2 separate regions of the Homo sapiens genome follow, and region 2 is linked to region 1. Evidence: promoter capture Hi-C in 16 types of primary human blood cells and fetal thymus (Javierre and others, 2016). All regions are on one chromosome and are shown on one strand. The core of a region is centred on a gene start or on the middle of the fragment in contact, and the rest is flanking DNA. Distances in the headings are between cores, read along the strand shown. Region 1 holds the start of ATE1 (arginyltransferase 1). Region 2 overlaps RAB11FIP2 (RAB11 family interacting protein 2).

What was found. The method cuts DNA at HindIII sites, captures the fragments that hold promoters and counts their contacts. A CHiCAGO score of 5 or more calls a contact.
Region 2: a contact is called between a fragment that was not itself captured here and the fragment with the promoter of ATE1 in region 1, in 1 of 17 cell types (total B cells). The highest score is 5.4, in total B cells.

The regions. Positions count from the first base shown.
Region 1 is chr10:121,926,781-121,930,783 of GRCh38, reverse strand. ATE1 (arginyltransferase 1) reads left to right here and starts at 2,753. Exons shown (of 12, transcript NM_001001976.3): 1 at 2,753-2,940. The coding sequence starts at 2,835. It also overlaps the pseudogene ATE1OSP. RefSeq lists silencers at 56-350, 2,172-2,471, 2,662-3,081 and enhancers at 1,987-2,853, 3,392-3,541. The HindIII fragment of the contact is 6,802 bases long and covers 1-4,003 here.
Region 2 is chr10:118,035,564-118,043,022 of GRCh38, reverse strand. RAB11FIP2 (RAB11 family interacting protein 2) reads left to right here. Exons shown (of 5, transcript NM_014904.3): 2 at 2,458-2,900; 3 at 3,583-4,051. Among named protein-coding and RNA genes, the nearest start is that of CASC2, 7.5 kb to the left of the region's middle. RefSeq lists a silencer at 7,203-7,396. The HindIII fragment of the contact is 2,009 bases long and covers 4,059-6,067 here.

The sequences.
Region 1 (4,003 bases), core at 1,504-4,003:
AACCCTAGCCCCAACCCTGTGCCTGCACAGACATGTGCTGTGTTGACTCAAGGTTTAATGGATTTAGGGCTGTGCAGGATGTGCTTTGTTAAAAATGTGTTTGAAGACAGTATGCTTGGTAAAAGTCATTGATATTCTCTAATCTCGAGTATCCAGGGACACAATGCACTGTGGAAGGCCACAGGGACCTCTGCCCAGGAAAGCCAGGTATTGTCCAAGGTTTCTCCCCATGTGATAGCCTGAGATATGGCCTCGTGGGAAGGGAAAGACCTGACCGTCCCCCAGCCCATAAAGGGTCTGTGCTGAGGAGGATTAGTGAAAGAGGAAGGCCTCTTTGCAGTTGAGGTAAGAGGAAGGCATCTCTCTCCTGCTTTTCCTTGGGAATGGAATGTCTCAGTGTAAAACTCGATCATACGTTCTATTTACTGAGATAGGAGAAAACCGCCTTATGGCTGGAGGTGAGACATGCTGGCGGCAATATTGCTCTTTACTGCACTAAAATGTTTGTGTAAAGCCAGACATAAATCTGGCCTACGTGCACATTGAGGCATAGCACCTTTCCTTAAACTTATGACACAGAGATCTTTGCTCACGTTTTCCTGCTGACCCTCTCCCCACCATTACTCTATAGTCCTGCCACATCCCCCTCACCGAGATGGTAGAGATAGTGATCAATAAATACTGAGGGAACTCAGAGACCAGTGCTGGCGCGGGTCCTCCGTATGCTGAGCCCTGGTCCTCTGGGCCCACTGTTCTCTACACTTTGTCTCTGTGTCTTACTTTTTTTCTCAGTCTCTCGTCCCACCTGACGAGAAACACCCACAGGTGTGGAGGGGCTGGCCCCCTTCAACAAGTCACCAGGCCACCAAGAAACCTCCTTCAGCTAGGTACATATCTAACACAGGCCCTTGGGGTCAAGAATGTCAAAACTCACCTCAAAAATTTATTTCTATTTCTCTGAGTTTCATTTCACTTTTTTAAACACACTTAAAACAATATTGTATCATCAGCTTTATTGTTGACTGGGAAAACTATGAGGACAGACAGGCTTAAATTATCTGTGCACGCAGAGGGAAAGATAAGGCATATTACCTTGTTGGAACTCTTTTTTTTTTTTTTTGAGATGGAGTCTCGCTCTTTCGCCCAGGCTGGAGTGCAGTGACGCGATCTCTGCTCACTGCAAGCTCTGCCTCCCGGGTTCACGCCATTCTCCTGCCTCAGCCTCCCGAGTAGCTGGGACTACAGGCGCGTGCCACCACGTCCCGCTAATTTTTTGTATTTTTTAGTAGAGAAGGGGTTTCACCATGTTAGCCAGGATGGTCTCTTATCTCCTGACCTCGTGATCCACCCGCCTCGGCCTCCCAAAGTGCTGGGATTACAGGCGTGAGCCACCGCGCCCGCCCCTGGAACTCATTTTTTAAAAAATTTTTTTGAGATGGAGTCTTGCTCTGTCACACAGGCTGGAGTGCAGCGGCGTGATCTCGGCTCACTGCAAGCTCCGCCTCCCGGGTTCACACCATTCTCCTGCCTCAGCCTCCCGACTAGCTGGGACTACAGGCGCCCACCACCACGCCAGGCTGATTTTTTGTATTTTTAGTAGAGACGGGGTTTCACGTGTTAGCCAGGATGGTCTCAATCTCCTGACCTCATGATACGCCCGCCTCGGCCTCCCAAAGTGCTGGGATTACAGGCATGAGCCTCAATTTTATATTTTGCCCTAGACTCTTATTCCTTAAATCTTCCTTAAAATAGTGGTTGCAAAATGGAGGCCCATGGGCTGGATTCAGCCTGTAAAACTGTTTTGTTTGGACTGTAGAGTTAAAAAAAACAAACAAACCCTGTATTTCCAGCATCTCATTAAAAATCGTATGAGGCACCGGACTTATAGTGGTACAAGACAGCAACTGTCTCTAGCTGACAGTTGTTTCCTTTAAAAGCCGTTAAGAGTTCTTTAATTTGCGAACCCTCGCCATTCACGGAATACCTGCTTGTGTTCTTGTATTCAGGGCACTGGAGTGCGTGCCAGCTGGTCTGGAAGCAGCTCCAGCAAGTCACTTACACGGTGGCCAGGGGCGGCCTGACTTTCAATCCGAGACCCGCCGGGAATGACTTTGGGATAATCACAACCTCCGGTCCTCAGTTTCCTTACCTGTGAAATGGGGCTGATAACGCACAGCTGTGGGAAGCACCGGCCCAAACGCAGGGCTTGGGGACACGACCACCATCCCCGCCCACGGGTCCCCGCGCCAGGCTTCGCTCTCCACCCCTCCCGCCGCGGGCCCCAGCGCTTCGCCGAGGTCGGCCCCGGGCGCCAAGAGGCGTGGTCGGCCCGAGCGGACCCTCGCGGCGGCCATGGCGTCGGTGGTGGAATACAAGGGCCTCAGGGCCGGCTACCACTGCGGCTACTGCGATTCCAAGGAGGGCAAAGCGTCCTGCGGTGAGTGTTCCCGACGCCGGAGTTGGCGCGGCCGCCGCGCCCCGCACAGGCCCTCGGCGGGGGAAAGGGCAGGCTCGCACCCCGACTCCCGCTTCCCTTCCCCTCTTGACTCTCCCCATCCTGTTTCCCTTCCCGCTCTGTCTCTCCGCCTCACCCTCACTGACGACGGCGGCCCCTTATGGAGAAGGAACGGAAATAGTGGAAAGCTGCCCTCGGTCAAGATGGCGCGGGCGGCGTCAGCTCCAAGAGGCGCCGGGCCGGCCGGGCCTGCGGGCGCCCGAGTGGCTTCGCGCGAGCCTCGGGAGGCTCCCGGGCGGCGCGCTGCATTGTGGGGTGGCGGCGGCGGCCGCGCTAGCGACGCGGGGCCGGGCGGCTGAGCGTTCGCGGGGCCGAGGCCATGGCTTTCTGGGCGGGGGGTTCGCCCAGCGTCGTGGACTATTTCCCTAGCGAGGACTTCTACCGCTGCGGCTACTGCAAGAACGAGTCGGGCAGCCGCTCCAATGGTGAGCGAGCCGGGCCGGCGGGCGTGGGAAGCCGGGCGCCCGGGTCTCGGGATCCCAGGGTCCCCCAGCGAGGACGCGAGGGGGCCGGAGCCCCTGGCCCCAGTGCCACGGCCGAGACGGAGGGGGCACTCTCGGGAGGGCCGCGGCGCCGGCTTAGCGGGGCAGCTTCGCGGTGCCTGTTCTGCAGGAAAATCCTAACCGGTGCCCGTACTCTCGAAATCGTGGTGGTCTCCCCAGAGTCGGGAGACGGACGCCCGTCTGGGGTAGATTGTGTGAGGTGAAGGACGGCGCGCAGTGCCAGGGAACGCCCCAGAGCCGTAGTTAATGGCCGGGGCTGACCGGTGGGTGCTGCGGTGGGAGCGTCCCGGGAGCGAGGGCGAAACGCGGTGCAGAGGGAGCTGTGGGTGTGCACACAGGTGCCGGTCATGTATGAATCAGACTTCCCTGGACGAATGTACAGGAAGGATGAGCCCTTTGCATCTCTGGGTTAAAAAAAAAAAAAGTTAAAAAAAAAAAGGACAAGAAACTGGTGACCGCGGTCGCTACCGGCGAGGGATTCTGTTTGTCCTGATCTGTTTGAAATTTTTACCATTTGCTTATATGCCGTGTCTTTCCTCCACCCACCCGGACGACAGCAAAGCCAGCCCACAAGTTTGTTTTGTTTTTCCATCGTGATTCAGATTTCTTTGGGGGAGATTTGTTGCTGGTAAACAAAACATCGTGTTTATTTCCTCTCTTGCCATGCATTTGCCAATATAGAATGTAGACTCTATTATTTTAATAGAACAGTCTAGCTTTGTGGAAAACGAGATTCGCATGAAAACACACAGGCATTTTCCATGAAAAAGGTGTAAGTGGGGAATGATTTGGTCGATAACGGTGTGTGCATTTGCTCCTTCATTAAAAGTGTTTATTAAGTGCTACTTGTGGGCAGCGGTTTTGAGTAGACAGTTATGCAATCGTTAGAAGTGAGGATTATGAAGACTAAATGGAAAAATGCTTCCAGTTTGGACTTAAACGGAGAAAATCAACAGGATGCAAATGGCTTATGCGACATGATTAC
Region 2 (7,459 bases), core at 3,814-6,313, 3.9 Mb after region 1:
CCAAATGCTGTGTCTTCGTTTTATCTTTCTGAAGACTGGAAAAACAAATGCTATCTCTGAAATGATTCTTGAAGATCTCATTAAGACTTCCCTATTATGTCATTTTCAAAACAAAGCAACTAAAGTTATTTGTCATTGCTACATTTTCAATGAGTATATTTGTAAAAGTTCTTTGCAGTTTTTTTTGGGGGGTGGGGAATGGACATTATAGTGTATTTACAGTTTGTAGTCAAATACTGATTTGCTTTATTCAGGTTTACATAGGTCTTTACAGTTTCCTACTAAAAAAACAAGACAATGTAAACACATACACACACACACACAGTTGTAGCTTACTTGTAAGAATATAGTTCTAGAAATAAAAATTGAATAAACATTTAATGCAAGGCAGACTGCCTTCCAGGAGCTTATACTCTAGCAGTAGAAAATTTGCATTGTCTTTCTCTTCAGCTCTCATGTCTCCTTATTAAATACAGTGTCCTGCAGTATGTGCCAGCCATGTGGTTAACCTTATTAACATATGTGGTTCATCAAATAAGAAAGAGCTTCTATTTTCCTGCAGATGTTATTCATCAACTTTAGATTTTTTTCTTTATTGACTTTAATCTGACATTGGGAAGTTACATATCATTCCTTGTGCCTCAATTTCCTCATCTATGAAATAAAGATGTTAAAGTAGATGATTTATTGGTCTTATCTCTAAAAGTCTGTGAATTTCCACTACCCCCACCCCCTTCCATTTTGGGGGTAATTAATTTTTTTTTACTCATATTTGCTTTGATTTGTTACATACGTGCTCGTTTTTGTTTGCAAATTTTTGGTACATTTTTTGCAAAGTATATTCACCTACATTCTATAAAGCCTGAGGTACTACAGAGTATTTCTGAGCTACTGTTCGTCAGATGTGTTTCTCTCCCTATTGAAAATAGCTCTGTTTTCCAAAACTTTGAGTTAACTGGGTATATAATCTGCTTCATTTCCAGGCTTTTTGAGTGCTCAATTGTATGTTATTTAAGGTTGTCTATTTCACAGAAATCGCTGTCATTTCTTATTTCTAGCCCCTGTTTCTTCAGATTTTACCATTTGCCTTATATAAGGGATTTTCTCAGTTTAAGGTCTCAGGCTAATAGTATTTTAAAATATTGATATTCTAAGAAATGGCTAGTTTTGATGCAACTATATCTGAATTGATTGAATAGCTCCAATTTAGTTAATCAAGAAAATATTTTTCTTCCATGTTACGTGCAAAGATGTAGCTGGTATTTATATCATGTGCCAGTATTTCAACTTGATATACAGTAAATGTAATCTTCTCTTGGCATATCCAGTTGGTAACAATGAGAGAAAGAACTAATGTAAAATTAGATCAGAGTTCCTTTGTAGCTAAGAAAATTTGTTACACTCGATTAGAGCTATATTTAAATAATAACCTGTGTGCAGGAATGGATATTATGCCTCATTGCTAAGTTATGTGAAAACATTGTAGAAACTCTTTCAGGCTTGATTTTGTAGTTTTTTTTGGCTGTTTTCCCATAGAATGACCACTTGTGACATGGCCAACTGGAGAATTTCTCATGGATAAAAATACTATAAAACCAAAATATTGCTTCTTGTATATCATTTAAATACAGATAGTGCCATACATTGAAGGGACTAAAACGTAAGATTTGGCTTCATTTTCAAAATAATTTTTATTTGGTATTGTCACAGTAGCAATAGTAAAATGAAGCAAATAGATTCAAACAAGAAGCATTTTAGGTTTTTTTTTTTCCTTTTGAAAACTTCACAAGATTTATTTTTTGTCACTTCTTGCATTTTACTTATTTTTTGCATATTTTATTCAGGAGTAGGCTTTGATTCATTTTATGTCAATCTAAATGACATCATATGCTGTTTTAATGATTAGCAAGCTATATGCAATGATCTCCAATGTTAACAAAATTCTTTTGCTACTTTTACGTAAGTAATATTTTGGGATGGGGCCAGGTATTTATTATTGTATTAAAATGTCATGAGATTCATTTTATAATGCTCAAAAATAATTTGTATTGGTGAATTCTTTCAAAATCTCTGCCTCAATGTCTTTTAATGTTAAAAAAAAATGTCCTTAGGCCGTGAGCAACACTTAATCCCATATGGAAAACTTCTAGCATTGATAAGAATTTTTGATGATGAGTGATTTTCAAATTACAAAAGAAAAGATTATCTGAAAACATTTTCAAACTTGCCAAAGACCTATTCATTCCTTCAGTATATGTTACATCACAGAGACAATGATCAGTTTTTTAAACTAAATAATAAGTAAAGCCCGAAATACTGTGGCTGACAGATTCTTATTCAGAGCTTAGGTTGCCTTGATGTATAGTTACTTTACCTAAAAGGCTATTTGTATGTAACAGAACTCAGTATCCTCTCTCTATTATGTGTTACAGCCAATTTTTTTTTCTTCTCTTTAAGGTGGTTTAGATTAGAATCCAAACAAGGAAAACGAATCAAAAACAGGGGTGAGATAAAGGTCAATATTCAGTTTATGAGGAACAATATGACCGCAAGTATGTTTGACTTATCAATGAAGGACAAAACCAGATCTCCTTTTGCAAAGTTAAAAGATAAGATGAAGGGTAGAAAAAATGATGGAACATTTTCTGATACGTCTTCTGCAATCATTCCAAGTACTCACATGCCCGATGCCAATAGTGAATTTTCAAGTGGTGAAATACAGATGAAATCCAAACCAAAAAAGCCTTTTCTCTTGGGTCCTCAGCGACTCTCGTCAGCGCATTCAATGTCTGATTTATCTGGGTCCCATATGTCTTCTGAGAAACTGAAGGCTGGCACCATAGGTCAAACACATCTTCTCGGACACCAGTTAGATTCCTTTGGAACAGTTCCAGAAAGTGGTAAGTGTCACATTCTTGTGTACTCATTGGTCTGAACTACCCTTTTAGTTTTTAAAGTTTAATTTCTAAATTTAGTAAATCAAAATAGCAGTTGCTTTGTAGTATTTTCCAAATTTTGTCATTCATCAAATATTGAGTACCTACTATACCTCAAATTGGTAAGTTCCTTGAAGGCAGAGCTTGTCTGCATTTGTATTTATATTATTAGATGATAATAAAATGAGTGCCAGTTTCCTTTTATGGCTTGGCTGCCTGTTTTACTGCTGTTTCTGCTATCTCAAAACCCTGAGCATAAATGAATGTTCCATTTCATCATAAAGTCCTTAGAAGAAAACTTTTATGTTCAGAAGTAAGAAAGTAAATTTAATGCTAATGAAAAAGTCTCTGAGAATTTTTAACATTATCATGCCAACCAGAACCTCTAGTTTTGACATCATAGTTTATATGATTGTGAGCTGAATACATTACTAATGGTCTAGCAATATGCTAGTTGTTATCAGCCTCGATGCTTCAGACTGCTACACCTTAGCATTTTAAGATTGTTTCCTTGATTTTTTGAAGGTTAATACATTTAAGTGGCTAATTGCTCTCATTCTAAAAGCAGCAGAATGCACACAGACTGTGTCAAATAGTGTGATGTAATGTGTCACTGATTATGTACTAACTACAAAATTGTTTGTAGGAAGTCTCAAATCTCCACACAGAAGAACATTAAGCTTTGATACTTCTAAAATGAACCAACCTGACAGCATTGTGGATGAAGGTGAATTGTGTTTCGGAAGACAAAATGACCCATTTACAAATGTGACTGCTTCATTACCCCAAAAATTTGCAACACTGCCAAGGAAGAAAAATCCATTTGAAGAAAGCAGCGAAACATGGGACAGCAGCATGAATTTATTTTCAAAACCAATTGAAATAAGAAAAGAAAATAAAAGAGAGAAAAGGGAGAAAGTTAGCCTGTTTGAAAGAGTGACTGGAAAAAAAGATAGCAGAAGATCTGATAAACTTAACAATGGGGGATCTGATAGCCCTTGTGACTTGAAATCACCTAATGCATTTAGTGAAAATCGCCAGGACTATTTTGATTATGAGTCAACCAATCCATTTACAGCAAAATTCAGGGCTTCAAATATAATGCCATCTTCAAGGTAAGCTTAATATGGGGGAAGTTCTACTATTTGGGAAAATCTTGTACTTGAAGGTATCAAATATTTCTTTTAAATGCTAGAATATTTTCAAGTCATTTTATTTTATTTGAAAAACATTTTTATTTGTATAATTAAATTATAGAGCCAGGCAATGTTGCATATATTTTTGGAACTGAACTTTTTTATCTTAAGAAGATAAAAGACTCTTATTCTCTATCCTGGTCTACTTCCACTTATGTGAGCCAGAAATTCACCAAAACTTAGAAAACAACATGGCTTGTGATGAGACATGGCGAGAGTGAATTGCCAGTGGGTGTTAGTTCAAGCCAGAAATTTAGGTGATAATGTTTCTAGGGATTCGTTCATGGGCTACCTGGAAAGGACCAACAGCAGCCCATGTGCTATTCTTTAAAAAACGCCAGCTTCAGTATTAATGGCTTTCCTAATAGATGTTAATTATCCTTATTAAATGGCTATTTAGAAGTGGTTTTTATTTGAGAATGCTTGTTATTGGAATTCAGTAACCCTCATGGGTTCTGTAGGTATACCCAAGGGATCTATATGATGATTTATAGTCAGAAATAATCACTCATGAGAAAGATTGGATTTTCCAACTTTGAGTTTTCAGTTATATATATAATGGTGCTTTTCTTATTCCTTAGTATATCTAAATTATATCTATATATCTAAATTTAAATCTATATCTATATAAATTTATATCTACATATATAGATATAAGTGTAGATATGCTAAGGAATAAATTTAAATATGGTTATGGATTTTACAGAAGTAAACGATGAAATAGCTGATTAAGGAAACCTCAAGCAAAGAAAAGATAAATTTATTCCCATCTTAAGTATAGTTGGCCCCCCATATTTGCAGGTTCTGCATTTTTGGATTCAATCAACCATGGAGTGAAAATATTTAAAAAAATAAATAAGAAATAACAATATAGTAATGAAAAAATAATGCAGATTTAAAAAACAGTACAGTGTAACAACTGTTTACATTGGTTTACATTGTATTAGGTATTATAAGTAATCTAGAGATAATTTAAAATATATGGGAGGTTGCGTATATGTGCAAATACTGTACCATTTTGTATAGGGGACTTGAATATCCCTGGATTTTGGTATCCTTGGAGTCCTGGAACCAATCTCTCTCAGATACTGAGAGATGACTGTAATTATCTTGGAAGAGCATGCTAGAGTGTTTACCACGTAATAGAAGATTTTCTTCAAGACAATATTATAGAGTGTACAGACCTGAATGGGAATACTGGCTTAGAAGTGCTATGACCTCCATAAACCTCAGTATCTCCATCTTTGAAACAAGGAAAATAATCCCACTTGATAGGATTCGGTGAGGATAAATGAAAGTACATAATACAAAGCCAGGCCCCAAATAGGGAATCCATAAATGGTGACTACAATTATGTTTGATGTATCGTCATGTTATATTTTACTAAAAAACAGTGCTTTGTTTTGTCCCACTAGAAACAGCAAATAGAGTATTAACAATCAATCACTTTTAGGCTGTGCCCTCTCACCTCTCTTATGTATCTTCCATGATATTTTAAAAATTTGCATTTAAATTTTCAAAGTGAAGTGTACTTTTTTTGTTTTCTTTTACCTATAAATGGATATTTGCCATGGTTTAAAAGAGTATTCTGTTCTGTTTATAAACCATACTCCAGAAGAATAACATTTTTATCATATGGTATCAATATTTTATTGAAGAGTTTATAGTTTTGATATGCCATTCAAAAATATTTTGGTATTTTACATACTGTACTTCACATATTACATTAAATCTTATATGGGTAAATAGAAATATATTTGCTTCTTTCCCTCTTTACTAAACTTTTTTTTACAGAAGGTTGTTGGAAACAACTGTCTGAGGTAACTTGGAGATGGGGCAATTTAGCTAATTTTAGAGTCAGAAGAAAAGCAAGAAAATGGAAAATGATAGGAAAATAATGTTTTTACATTATGGGTGCATATGGAAAAAAAAGCTTATTGAGTATTTGCAAATCTTTAATTGCCCTGTATTTGAGTTGTTTATGTGGGCTGTTACGGGTTTTAAAAGTGCCTGTGGCATTTTGACACATCCAGGCTTTGTTTTCAGTTACTTTATTATTATTGGCTGTTTCTAGCAAAATTAGAGCTGTTTTATGATGTATGAAATGATTGCAAGTATGTAAAAAAAAATAGTTGTTTTTCATTTTATGACTTTCTCTTCTTCATATTTATGAGATGCCAGATATGAGGACAGAACATTTGTGGATTCCTAGGAAGTTATTCTTTTTGCATCACAAACCATCCGTGTGGTAAATGTAAAACATTTGCAGTAAAGGGGTAGTTCTAGTTAATCTTATAAAAAAGAAGAATTGAATATAAATAGACCCAAGAAGAGTGTGCAGTTCACACTTTTGGCAAGCAGCTTTATCTTGAGTGGAATTTGGGAGGATATTGCCAAGGTAGTGTTGTCTTTACGTAACAGTATAGTTCTATTTTTCCTCCCAGTATCAACCCTCAGCTATCTGGGACATTTTAAATTTCTCACATTAACATCCTAACCGAATGCACTTTTGGAGCTATGGGCTCACATTATTAAGACACGTGCTGTGAATTTTTTTCAGGAGTGCTAAATAGACCTATTTACAGTTTCCTGGACTCTTGTGGCCAGTGTTTGTGAGAATGCTGAACAAGGTTAAGGGTAAAATACATAGCCATGGAACTGCATTTTCTTCTTGGTGAGTGAACTGGCTCACTTGTGATTGCTGGTACCTAGGAACCATATTGTTACCCTCTGGTTGAATAATGTATATTATTAAAACTGGAGAATTTTCTTTATGCCCAAAATTTTAAAATGTACTAAGGCACACTTTTTTTAGAAGTTAGACTTTTTATTCCTTAGTGTTAAGTAAAGTCCGCCTGAAGAAAGCACTTTGGAAACCACAAAAAATACCACATTTTGATCCTGTCCTTGGAATAGGTCCCATAGTTTTACATAAAACTGATAGAGGAAGTTAGGCATTATCTTGGGTTACTTCAGCAAAGAGCAGGGCTCTTTGAAACACTTTTCCCCGAAGTTACTAATTTGCAGTCTCTTACATGCCCCTATTTCTTTGAAGCATTTCCTGTTCTTGTAGGGAGGGGTAGTTGTTCCCTGTGCTGCAGCATTTTCTTACGTAAGTCTTGTCTTCTGTGGGCATGGCATTGTTCACTAATAGCTTAGTCTCACTTTTTTTGCCCACTACCATGAAGAGTTTGATAGCAGGGTCTGCATTTCATTCCTCTTTTTGCCCTTAGTCTCCAGCGTGATGCTTGGTAGGTAGCAGGTATTAGATATTTTGAATAAACGCACACAGTATAGCAGACCAGTTTCTTAATGCACACAGTGTAG